4 separate regions of the Homo sapiens genome follow, and regions 2, 3 and 4 are each linked to region 1. The links are contacts of gene promoters, found by promoter capture Hi-C in blood cells and fetal thymus (Javierre and others, 2016). All regions are on one chromosome and are shown on one strand. Each heading gives the region's core, a stretch centred on a gene start or on the middle of the fragment in contact. The rest is flanking DNA. Distances are from core to core; before and after follow the strand shown. Region 1 holds the start of ADAM10 (ADAM metallopeptidase domain 10). Region 2 overlaps LIPC (lipase C, hepatic type). Region 3 overlaps LIPC (lipase C, hepatic type). Region 4 overlaps LIPC (lipase C, hepatic type).

Evidence for each region. The method cuts DNA at HindIII sites, captures the fragments that hold promoters and counts their contacts. A CHiCAGO score of 5 or more calls a contact.
Region 2: a contact is called between a fragment that was not itself captured here and the fragment with the promoter of ADAM10 in region 1, in 11 of 17 cell types (megakaryocytes, erythroblasts, M2 macrophages and 8 more). The highest score is 11.2, in megakaryocytes.
Region 3: a fragment that was not itself captured here is called in contact with the fragment with the promoter of ADAM10 in region 1 in 12 of 17 cell types (M2 macrophages, fetal thymus, megakaryocytes and 9 more); the score reaches 10.3 in M2 macrophages.
Region 4: a contact is called between a fragment that was not itself captured here and the fragment with the promoter of ADAM10 in region 1, in 8 of 17 cell types (megakaryocytes, fetal thymus, activated CD4 T cells and 5 more). The highest score is 8.4, in megakaryocytes.

The regions. Positions count from the first base shown.
Region 1 is chr15:58,748,302-58,751,397 of GRCh38, forward strand. ADAM10 (ADAM metallopeptidase domain 10) reads right to left here and starts at 1,406. Exons shown (of 16, transcript NM_001110.4): 1 at 1,179-1,406. The coding sequence starts at 1,233. RefSeq lists enhancers at 539-1,174, 626-755, 1,846-2,025 and silencers at 866-1,155, 1,486-1,775. The HindIII fragment of the contact is 2,079 bases long and covers 131-2,209 here.
Region 2 is chr15:58,433,702-58,436,797 of GRCh38, forward strand. All of the region lies in intron 1 of LIPC (lipase C, hepatic type), which reads left to right. It overlaps LIPC-AS1 (LIPC antisense RNA 1), which reads right to left. Exons shown (of 3, transcript NR_120338.1): 3 at 1,200-3,096. Among named protein-coding and RNA genes, the nearest start is that of LIPC, 3.3 kb to the left of the region's middle. The HindIII fragment of the contact is 1,784 bases long and covers 543-2,326 here.
Region 3 is chr15:58,452,308-58,455,403 of GRCh38, forward strand. All of the region lies in intron 1 of LIPC (lipase C, hepatic type), which reads left to right. The region is part of intron 2 of LIPC-AS1 (LIPC antisense RNA 1); the gene reads right to left. Among named protein-coding and RNA genes, the nearest start is that of LIPC, 22 kb to the left of the region's middle. The HindIII fragment of the contact is 5,070 bases long and covers 1-3,096 here.
Region 4 is chr15:58,491,203-58,494,298 of GRCh38, forward strand. All of the region lies in intron 1 of LIPC (lipase C, hepatic type), which reads left to right. All of the region lies in intron 2 of LIPC-AS1 (LIPC antisense RNA 1), which reads right to left. Among named protein-coding and RNA genes, the nearest start is that of LIPC-AS1, 6.0 kb to the right of the region's middle. The HindIII fragment of the contact is 801 bases long and covers 1,091-1,891 here.

The sequences.
Region 1 (3,096 bases), core at 156-2,655:
TACATGAAATAGATATTTTCTAAATTATCAAAGGCTACAGACACTCATCCAAAGCATTCCTCAAATTTTTTCAATCGTTGCTTTTAGGCACACCTTGAGGTTTTTAAGTTTACTCTGGGGCAAGTCAAAAAGCTTACCTAAAATAAAGCACTTTAAGCAAGAATAAAATGATGCAGCTGGTCCTAGAACACACCGGAAATAAAAATCGTTGTCTTCAAAACCCGAAACAAGAAATGACATGCTTTTAGCAAATTTGACTTTCATGTGCAGGGGGGAGGGGGCACTGTTTTGACAATCCACTAACTACACTGTACATCTACTCCACCTGAAAGTTTAACGAAACTCTTCAAGTTGGGTCACCCAGGGACCGAACTTCTACTCTAAGAGACCCAATCCAGCCTACAAATCAAAGAACATCCCCAAATGGTTTACCCTTCTCCCGACCAAACCCTTTCCCCTGGGCGACAGAATGTTTTCAAGAACACCAACACACCCTCCTGTGATCTCTCTCCAAACACAGGACACAGGAAGAACCGAGGCCACTAGTCTCAGATAAGCGGGTGATGACTGCTGCCACTCCACGGGCGGCCCCTCTGCAGAATGGGGTCGGTCAGGACCGGCGCGCCGGGTAAAGAACAATACACGAGCCCAGCTGCAAACAACACAACTTCCCACGAGTCTGCGCGGCGGGTCTCGGCGGCGGAGAGGACTTCGGAATCCGCCACCGGGCAGGGGCTGGGGGAGGAATGGTGAGCAGGATGAGCGCTGAACGAGGACGGCGAGACCGCCAGCCTCGCTGCGGCTGCCTGCACCGGCGCCCGCCGAGCAGACTGGAGGGATGCAGCCACCAGCCTGGGTTCCACCGCTCTCACCAGGCGACGCGGATGCCCCGACTTCGCTTCTCTGGGAGGCGACCCCCGCCTCCCGGGGCCGCCAGGGCGGTGGGGGGCGGGGAAGGCCTCGCCGGAGGCTTGGGAGCCTCCTCGGCCCGCCACCGAAGGGAAAGCGGTCGGGGCGCGGGGGACAATAGGGAGCGGGGAGCGCGGCCCGCCAGAGTGGCGCCGCTGGCCGGCTGGGCTGACTGACGCGCACGCCGCGAGGCGCGACTGGGCTCCGCTCGGCCCGGCCGCCGCTCCGCCGTGGTCGCGGCGCCCCCGGCGCTCGCAGTCGTGCCTCACCTCCCATCCCCGCCGCCCAGGAGAGGAGCAGAATTAACACTCTCAGCAACACCATCTTCCGCTGCCGCTGCCGCCGCCGCCGCCTCCTCACGGGTTAACAGCAGCACATCGATCCGGAGGGAGAAGCTGAAGGGGCTTGGTCCGGAGCCTCCACGGGAAGCCGGGACCTCCCCTGGCAGGAGAAACGGCGAAGCACCTCCCTCTCGCTCCACTTCAGGGGCCGGCAACGCTCCTAGCTCCTCCAAAACAGGGACCTCCCTCCCCCTCGTTCGTTTCCTTCCTCCTTTCCCCGCTTTCCTTCCCTTGCTCGTTCCCTCTTCTCTCCCCCCCTCCTTCGAAACTCAGACCTCCGCCTCCTTCCTCACCACGTGACGCGCGGGCACCCAACTGGCACGCGGAGCCGCGCCCCTACCTCCCGCCCCTACCCGTCCCCCAGGCGCTTCAGGGGCGCGCGCATGCGCGCGGGGGACGGTTCCCGTGCTGCTAGGCCTGCCGCCGCTTCCTGTCCGCCGGCGGAGAGCTGGGATTGGGCTTGGGAGGCGGGGTTTGTCCTGGTCCCGCCCCGGGGCGGGAGCGCTCCTACGCGGAGATAGTGCTCCGCTACGTGTTAGAGCTGCTGAGGACCTTCCCTTGGGCTAAAATGGTCCGTGGAAGATGTAAGCAGGGCTGCTTTCGACTTCTTAACGTCACAAGTAACAGAGGTTTTTTTTCTTCTTTTTCTGCCTCTCTTGGTGCACCACAGCTACCAAGTAAACAAAAAGTCCCAACAAGCAGTAATTATAGCGGCAGCTGCCCCAGTGATGCGAACATAAATGCAAAGACCTTCAAGCAGCAGGAAAAAAAGACACCATGTCCGAGATGTAATTTTCCGAGCTCTTTACAAATTTATGTCACAGACTAAGGCTTTAGCCTTTGCAAAAGCATGCAACCTGAACCAGACTGTCTTGAATCTCCAGTCCAGAAAATGTCCTCTTTTCTCTCTGTCACATCTTTGAAGCGAATCCACGCACATCTTCTCCCCAACTTCTTAAAGCTTGTGTTTGTTTTCTCGTAACTCATTTTGATTCTTTAAACTTGGATGTCATGAACTAGAACTTTTTATGGCCATTTAATTAGATATTCTTCATCTATTTGGTATCGTGCTTGAGTAGGCCGAATTAGGGAGAGTGTGTGTGTGCGTGTGTGTGTGTGTGTATGTGTAAATTGTTTTGTTTTGCTTTCTAAAGACAAGGTCTCCGCTGTCTCGCCAGGCTGAAGTGCAGTGGTGTGATCATAGCTCACTGTAACCTCCAACTCAAGCCGAATTAGGGAGAGTGTGTGTGTGTGTGTGTGTGTGTAAATTGTTTTGTTTTGCTTTCTAAAGACAAGGTATCCGCTGTCTCGCCAGGCTGAAGTGCAGTGGTGTGATCATAGCTCACTGTAACCTCCAACTCAAGCGATCCTCCCGCCTCGGCCTCCCACAAGTGCTGGGATTACAGGCGTGAGCCACTGCGCTCGGCCTTAATGTTATTGATACTGTAATAAACTGGAATTCCTATACTGTTACCTGTATATTTTATACCATTTATTACCATTAACATAAGTGAAGAGAATTTTTTTTTTTTTGAGACGGAGTTTCGCTCTCGTTGCCCAGGCTGGGGTGCAATGGTGTGATCTCGACTCACCGCAACCTCTGCCTCCCAGGTTCAAGCGATTCTCCTGCCTCAGCCTCCCAAGTTGCTGAGATTACAGGCATGCACCACCACGCCCAGCAAATTTTTTGTATTTTTAATAGAGACGGGGTCTCACCATGTTGGTTAGGCTGGTCTCGAACTCCCAACCTCAGGTGATCCGCCCGCCAGCCTCCCAAAGTGCTGGGATTACAGGTGGGAGCCACCGAGCCTGGCCATAAGAGTCTTCTTTAATTCTCAGTTTGAGA
Region 2 (3,096 bases), core at 185-2,684, 310 kb before region 1:
CTTCTGGGTATTGTCCAGATTTTCCTTGAGCAATCTCATTGTCCTGATCAGCCTGCTTCTTTCCCCGGGGCCTAGTTTGTGCAAATGCTGAGAGAAGTGGCCACTATTAGCAAGAGGGTTCCTCAGAAAAGAGGATCCAAGTCAGGAGGCCTCTTGTTCTCTTGGAAGCAGAATCTCTTGGCAGAATTCTTTCTGCAATGAGTGAGCCCAATCTGTGTGCATGTGGCTGGTATGATGTCTTTCTGGGGAAACCGCAGGGAAGCCGGTGTCCTGTGGTGGAGCCCTTGTCAGGAAAGTTTCTACACCAATGGTTCTCAACAGGGGCAATTTTGCCCTCCAGGGGACACTTGGCAATGTCTGGAGACATTTTTGGTTTTTGGTTGTTAAGACCAGGGAGAGAGTGCTTCCCTTCCAGCATCTAGTGGGTAGAGGCCAGGGAAGCTGCTTCACATCCTACAATGCACAGGACAGCCCTCACAACAATGAATTGTCTGGCCCAAAACATTATTAGTGCAGAGGCTGAGAAACCATGATCTATGCCAAGCTTCAACTGTCACTCATCGAGCACCAGGAAGTACTCCCTCAAGGACCCTTCCTCTTTAGCCCCTCCTCCCAGCCTACTTCTTTTGAGTATTTATTATTAATGACATCTTACTAATGGAGTCACTAATGTGCTGCACACCCAGCATGTGCCAGGCACTCCACGGACATTTTATCTCATCCTCACCATATGGTTGAGTAAGCTGGCAGTTAAGTGCCTTGCCGGCGGTCGCATAGCTGGTCAGGGCAGAGCAGGGAGAGGTACCTGCAGCCTCAATCTGTCTACTGAGGCCGCAGTGCTCTGTGTCGAGCCCACACCCAGTGATTTGACAGCCAGAGGTTTCTAGAAAAACATTCTGCTCAGTTCCTCTCACAGAGAGGGAGATTTAGACAGTTGTTCCTGCCCTTCAGCACTAAGGGGGACTGGATAGCGTGAGCTGCTTGAAGCCCACATGGCACATCACACTTATGCCCAGCCCCAATGCCTGAGACCCAGGTTCCCCAGTCGGTGTTGCCATGAGAGCCAACGCTGCTCCTAGACCCTGGCAAGTCCCACCTTCCCGGTACTGGGCCCACTATCAACAGGCACCTTCTCCCTCCCCTCCACCCCAGCCTCAGCTTGCAAATCCTAGGAGCAGCTGAAAGCTACCTATTCAGTCAGTCCCTCATGAGTGTCACAAGCATACATGAGCACCTGCCATACGTAACGCAGTGCCTGAGTACAACTCACACACTCTGTTCACACGTTTCCTCTCTTAAAAATCACTGAGGACCCCAAACAGTGTTTATTATGTGAGATATCAATATTTCCTTCATTAGAAATTAAAACTGAGAAATCTTTAAAATCTGCTAACACTTTTTAAAATGATAATAAACCCTTGCATATTAACACATATAATGTAATTTTATGAAAAATAACTTGTATTTTCCAAATAAGTTTTAAATGGAGAAGAGTGACATTGTTTTACAAAGAAATGTTGCAAATCTCTCTAATATCTGGCTTCCCAAGACAGCTGGATTATCTTACCTGTTTCTGTACTCAGTCTGTTGTGATGTATTGCTTTGTTTGAAATGTAGGAAGAAAATCTGGCCTCCCATAGAGGAAAAGGGAGGACATCCTAAGGCGATCTCCCTGGGGCCTTGGCCTGCAAACCACTGCGCTTGTGCAGTGGGCACTGTACAACAGGGGGCTGCACAGCCGTCCCCACCTTGCAGGAATTTACAGTCAAATGGGGTGGGAGTGGGGTGGGGAGGGAATAGGGGGCCATGGGACTGGGTGGAGGGGGGATGTGCCATCAATAAAAGAGCAACCGTCTGTGGAGAATTTAAATACAAATATAACCAAAAGCTGATCTGCCTGTCATTATCACAATTATAAAGAATGTCAGCCGGGCGCCGTGGCTCACGCCTGTAATCCCAGCACTTTGGGAGGCCGAGGTGGGTGGATCACCTGAGGTTAGGAGTTCAAAACCAGCCTGGCCAACATGGTAAAATGCCATCTCTACTAAAAATACAAAACATTAGCCAGGCTTGGTCATGGGCACCTGTAATCCCAGCTACTTGGTACGCTGAGGCAGGAGAATTGCTTGAACCCGGGAGGCAGAGGTTGCAATGAGCCGAGATGGCGCCGTCGCACTCCATCCTGGGCAACAAAGTGAAACTCCATCCCAAAAGAAAGAGTATCAGCGATAAAGGCAAAGCTCTTTCCAGAAAAAAATGGTTTTATGGCCTAAGTTCTAAACAATCTCCGTGGTTACTGTTGGATTTTATGTAGTAAGTATATGTAAGCTTCAAATTCATCACATCTTTATTATTTATCCTTTCATAAATATTGTGTTCTACATTGACATTAATCTGGAGAACTCCCGGTTATGCACTTGGCCCCAACATGCACAGACTCAGGGGCGTGTTCTTGTTGCAAGAGTAAGTGTGCGATGGTTCAGATCCTTTGACGTCCTTATGTCTCCAACCTCAGTGGCACTTATTACCTGCTTCTGCATGTAAACAGTAGATTTGAAACAAAAAATGATAGCGTAGTGGTTGTACAAACAAAAAACCAGAACTTGAATTATTTCAATTCTCTCATCCTAGGTGACCCCTGTAAGCTTCTCATATGTGTTTAAAATTTAAAGCAACAAAACAGATTGTGAACAATGAGTTGTAACATCTTGTTTGATAGGTAAAAATTTGGACTCATACGAAAAATATTTTTACTGCATTTGAATATCTTAAAGTTAAAATGTATTTGTCTTTTTAAAAATTGTTCACTGCTTTATAACTAAAGAAGAAATCGAGAAAGTAGTGATGATTGCTGATTTTTACATAAATATGACTGAAAATACTTTTGTCTTATAGAGCAGAGGGTCATTAAAATGATCCGTTCTGTGTGTCAAATACATGAGGTATACCACTGAGTCACATATGTAAATGTTATCAGCTAGAACAGAACATGGCATGAGATGAGGACCATGAGAGAGGAATGAGTAGAGAAGCAGATTTTACTTCCAAGTGGAGGGAAGAAGGCTTCTTGGAGGAGGCGGCATTTGAGTAGGGTGT
Region 3 (3,096 bases), core at 350-2,849, 300 kb before region 1:
GGCACCAAAGTTTGAGAACGTCTGCCTATAAATGTATTTGATCCAATCCATCAAGTTCAAAGGGACCACCTACTATAAAAACTAAGGCTTATGTTCAGGGTTTATTGAGCAGTCTGAATTTAGAAGAGTGTGAACGTGAAACAGTTTTCTATTTCTCCCATTCCAGCCTTCAGCCACGCACTATCAAGTTATATGCTTCCATCCCTTTATAGCATCCTGGGCAGATTCCTTTAACTTTTGGTCAGTTCGATTATTAAGTTATTTTACTTTATTCTAAAGCCTCAATCTCACATCTGATTTGACATTCTTCCCTTCTCTCATGAGCTAGACTCAAAGAAGATGGAATCTGCAGTGGGGAGGGGATAGGATAGTTCTGCTCTTTCACTCCTCTTTTCTCTGGAGCACCGTGGGGTAGGGTGGAGTGGGATGGGGTGGGAGGGCAGGGTGAGGCCTGGTCCTGGGATTGCTGCCCCTCATTTTTCAGAGCCCAACCCCCATGGGACTGGGAGCTGGTAGTGAGGGTACAGCTGGGGGACACAGAGGTCCTCATCTCTTGTGAGTGGTCTGCTCTTGCTCTGGTTCACTGTGGTCCCATCTGCTGCTGGTGGCCTTGGCCTGTGAAGATGTGGATGTGGTTTTCTGAGGGCCCTATCGGTGTGAGCCCAGCCCATTTGTCACTAAGGACAGCTGTGGCCCCTTTTGGCTTCTCCAAAGGTCCATGCCCCTCCTACTCTGTCCTCCTGTACAAAGTCTCAGAAATGACTTCGGTCTTCTTCCCCGCCTCTGAGGATTGATGGGAGCTGAGGTGTGGGGACCCATCCCCTCAGGTACACTGCCTCATAGTATTTCTTCTCCCCGCTTGGCTGAGCCTCCTCTCTTCAGATGGCTAAAACAGGCACAACCCCCACGTTGCCACACAGTCCCATAAACTCCTATGGATACAGGTCAGTCTCTCTCCAAAACTCCATCCTCATATCCCCAGCACCACATGGGACCTAGAATAGCAACGTCTCAGCCAGCATACAGCCTGGAACAATATGACCATTTCTGCCTCCTGCAGGCACCCTCATTCCGCATTCTCGGTAAGTGATTCTAATCGGTCCCCCAACTTGAACTCTAGAGACTAACAATGGGAAGAAGAGAACTAAATTATTCTCCCAGCAATTCCTACTCTCCCTCTCCCACTTGTCTGTCTAACATGGGCTGGGGGAAGGTGGTGATGGGAATAGAGACTGCTTCTTTGAGAGCCCTGGAGTTTGAAGAATTTGGCCCCAGTTGCTGGCAACTCTCATTACAGAGTGTGGGTTCCGTACATTGGCGCGGTGGCTTATGCCTGTAATCCCAGCACTTTGGGAGGCCGAGGCAGGTGGATTGCTTGACCCCATGAGGTCAAGACCAGCCTGGGCAATATGGTGAAATCCCAACTACTAAAAGTAAAAAAAAATCAGCCAGGCCTGGTATAGTCCTAGCTACTAGGGAGGCTGAGGTGGGAGAATTGCTTGAGCCACAGAGAGCGAGGCTGCAGTGAGCCATGATCATGCACAGCAAGACCCTGTCTCAAAAAAAAAAAAGAAAAGAAAAGAAAAAGAAAAAAAATGGATAGAATGTGGGTTCCTTAGCACCTGTTGTTTCAGCAGATGTCCTGGTGCCACATTTGCTATTTGCAATGCGTCTTCACATACATTATCTCAGTTGACCCCACAGTGATTCTGTGAGGTGTTTAACCTATAAGGAAACAGGCTCAGAGAGATTAAGTGACAAGCCCAAGGTCACACATGCAGAGGTGATGGCAAGATGGGAACCCAGCCCAGTGACTCCTGAGCACCTGTTCTCTCCCTGCTGTTTCATGCAGGTGCCTCAGCCACACTTGTCTTCCAGCTCTGGGTGAACTTGGAGCAAATAACCAGAGAAATAGCTTGTCTCCAAGGCCACAGAGCAGCTGGCAGGGGAGAGTTTGGGGCAAGGGATTTCCTTAGGGAAAACACCAATTCGTTCTGGTCATGCCCAGTCACATGGGTCCCAACCATCACCTTCCCAGGCCAAGGTCTTAGGTTCCCCTGGAACCCCTTTGGCTTTACTCCCTTCCTGGGCTGGGGGAAAGGGTGGGGATATAAGCTGGTACTTCCAAAGCAGAAAGCTGGGGTTTGGGGCTGACAGAGCTGACCTTGAGCTTGAGCTCCATGGAGTACCCAGCCCAGGTCAAATGGGGTCAGGAAGCCATCTGTGCCTTCTGGATGGCTCTGTCTGAATGATTCACTTCTGCCTATGGTGGGTGGAAGTTCATGGTTTTACTCCCACATGGTGACCACAGTGCATGGCAATTTTCTAGTCAACAGGTGGGGTTGGGGCCTCTGCTACACACAAGAGGCTTCTTTCTTCAAGTTTAAGACTTCTGATGCTCACAAGACCCTCCCATGCCCTTACCACGTGCAGCGCTCACCCCCAGGGCCTGGGGTTTGGTGAGATGTGTCGCCCACATGGGCTGGGATCATATTTTCCCCAGGGAAGATGAAAGCCCTCACCCTCTCACAAAGCCAATTGCTAAATTTTCAAGAATTTTGCAAGCTGATTTTTAAACATAGCCATTATTTTAAAATTACATTATAGAACTTACAATGAAACAAATGTTTAAAATGACAGTAATAAATACTCAAAACTCCTCTGTTCTCATTTTACTATTGTCTCTGTCTGTAAGGTTATTTCCGTCTGTCGTACTGTGTGGTGGAAATACTATTCAATGATACACCAAAGTGAATCTCTTCCCAACTCCGTTATCAGTAACATCACAGTGGGAGCTTAACAGCAGCCATGATGGCTGTATTTATACATGGACATTGGCAAACATTATAGATTAGGGTTTGATGTATTGTTTTGTTGACTGTGTAAAGCAAGGTTCAGCAAACTTTTCTCTGTAAAGGGCCAGACAGTAAATATTTTTCCTTTTGTAGGCCATAGGTGTCTGTTAAAACTACTCAACTCTGCTATTGCAGCACAAAAGCAGCCACAGACAATAGACACACAAATGGACCTGGCTGTGTTCCAATAAACCTAATTCACAAAAACACATGGTGCACCAGATTTGTCAGGCCATGGATT
Region 4 (3,096 bases), core at 241-2,740, 260 kb before region 1:
AGACTGGCCTTTCATGAAATGACAGCACCTGCCAAACACAATAGGGAAATAGTTAGTCCAGCCAGGCAGTGCCATAGAGTGGTCAGAGCATGGGAATTTCAAGCAGACAGCAGCAGGCTTTAATCCTCACTCTACTCTCCCCAGATGTGTCACCAAGGCAAGTCACTCAGCTTCTCTGAGGCTCAGTTTCCTGGCCTGTAGAGTGGGAATAATTATAATACTATCTTGGTTGTCAGGTTTAAAAGACCAAATGAATGTCACTGCCTGGCAGACTACTTAAAACAATAAGAGGTGCTAAAGTTACTTTAAACCAACCCTCTCCACCCTCTCCTTCCCCACCTCAGTTTCATACCCCAGAGACCAAATTCCTGATGGATTCCTAAATGATATCTCTGCCAAATACTGGTGCCAGGTGCTGGGCAAGGCACAGTTTTGCAACCAGCTGTCAGGCAGCAACAACTTCACAGTCGTACTTTTATTCAGTGTGTGGTAAAACTTCTGGGACAAGAGTCAAAGTCGTAGGGCTTTAGTGGGAAACTGCCATTGCCTGACCAGAGGTACAAAGCACTGGCCCTTCCCTCATCCCTGGCCTGACCTAAGAGGGCTGGGGTACCACAGGACTGTTGACCCCACTGAGAGCTCAGGGTGCCAGAAACACTGCCTGCCACGTGATTCCTATTGGTCCTTCCAGAGATGCTAACAGGCCTGGAGGCTGGAGGTCTCTCTGCCCACACTTTCACACATGACCTGGAGCAGGGGGTCCCAGCTCTGTAGCTGCATTTCTGACCCAGTTGGATACCTTGACATGGTCCCAGCAAGCAACAGAGCACCCATTGTACAGCCTTCCCCAGCCCCAGAGAGGGACTGTCCCTGCCAAGAACAGAGGTGCCACCCAGAATCTGACAGCAGGGGAGGCTCCCCAAGCATTCTACCCAGAAGAACAAGCACCCTCCCCAGATGGCCTGTGGCCCACCCTGCCCTCAGTTCCTAGCAGATCCTCAACTTGGCCTGCTTTGATGTTTGTGAATGGCAGGTAGGAAAGGTCAGGCAAGTGGAAGAAACCTAAAACCATGCTCTCTATGGCCATGGAAGCTTCCTAGGTATTATTACATAGCTGTAGTATATTAATATTACTGTCATTAATTGATATTATTGTAATGTTACTATAATATACATAGCCATAATATAAACACATTATAAAGCTGTAATAGCTTATCTTTATTCTACTATGTGGCAAGTCTGTACTAAGCATTCTCCTACTCTAAACCCCCACAAAAGTATTAGCTATGAACTATCATTGAATTTCGTTTTACAAACAAGGACAATCCAAAGAGGCCAAGTTACCTGCCCAAGGCCACACAGTCCACAAGAGCCCAAGTTCCCACTCAGGCCCATTCTTTTAGCTCTGTGCCACCCAGCTCTGCAAATGTAGCCACCCAAAGCCAATCAAGCCAGTGGTAGAGTTCTAAAACCAAATCTAGGGCTCTGTCCCACCAATCTCCACCTGGTGCCTGGAATTCCTCTATTTTTGTTTTTTGTTCTGTTTTGTTTTAAAGTTTCACTCACCCCCCTCCTTAAACCCAAATATCCCTGGGACAGGATGGAAATCCATAAACAGGTGCCTGAGTAAGACATCATTCACAGAGCCTTTTCCTCCTGACAGCTGGCCAAGAACAGGAGAGGGGGCCCTGGGCAAATCTGCAGGATTACATCAGAGCTTATTTTCCCCCGTATGCCCCTAATTTTCTACATGCTCTTCCATTCCTGATGGATTCCTAAATGATATCTCTGCTAAATCCTGGCGCCAGGTGCTCTTCCATTCTCCCAGTGATCCAGAACTTTCTTGCTGTCATGAAGAAAACTGATTTAATAAGTAAACTCATACTTAGGAAGCTTCCCATCCACCCTGGCCCCCCATGGTATCTCACATCATCATCAGACCAAAAGAACCCATACCCTCATCAGTGATGACTCAGCAAAATCAACTTCACATGATTAGGAAGCTCACATAACTAGCAAGGCGAGGAGGTTCTCTCTGCCGGCCACCTCCTCCCGCCAGCACTCCACCACAGCCTGCCTACTGTCTGCCCGTTTGGACTAGCAGCTGGTGCTGTGGGATCTTTAACTCCACTGAAATTATGTCACAAAACTGGGGCATCGTAGGGAACCTAGGAAAACAGACAAGAAATAAAGACTCCATATGTGCCTGGCCCACACCCGAGTTTGGCTCACTATGCACACATTAGATCCTGCCATTCACAATTTAAAATATATATATATTTTTTTGTGTATATATACATATATACACACCTAGAAAAAAAGTATGTATTTTGTATATATACAAAATTTATTACATATAAATAAAATTTATACAAAATTTATTACGTATAAATAAAATTTATACAAAATTTATTACGTATAAATAAAATTTATACAAAATTTATTACGTATAAATAAAATTTATACAAAATTTATTACGTATAAATAAAATTTATACAAAATTTTGTATATATTTGTATATGTGAAATATTTTTTAAATGTTAATATATCTATAATATTTATATATTTGAATATATAAGTTTATATATATTTATATGGCTCACTATAAAAGAAATTGAAACCTCCTTAAGCATGAACAACTCCCACGGGTGTTTTCTTCATGAGACGCACAGGAAGATGGCAATGGGTACTGAAAGGAATGAATTGCTTGTGGGGGAACTTTATTTACTAGAACAACCCCAGGTAGGAGGAGAGGTTTTAAGAAATGAGAGTAGGGGTTCTGGAGGAGGTCACCTTGCCTCCTAGTACAGAGGTAAGACTCCACTGAGGCTGGAGAATAATGCTCATGAGGAGATTGGCAGGCCCCAGATCCCTGCAGCTACTGGGACAGAGGCTTCAGTTCCTTGCCATGGGGGCCTCTCCCTAAAGCTGCTCACAACATGGCAGTTGGCTTCTCCCACAGCAAGAGAGAGAATCCCCAGAGAGAGCAAGAGGCTCCACAATGGAAGGCCTAGTCTTTCACAATCTAATCCCAGCAGTGACATACCCATCACTTCTGCTCTGTTATTGGTCAGACCAACCCTGGTGCAATGTGGG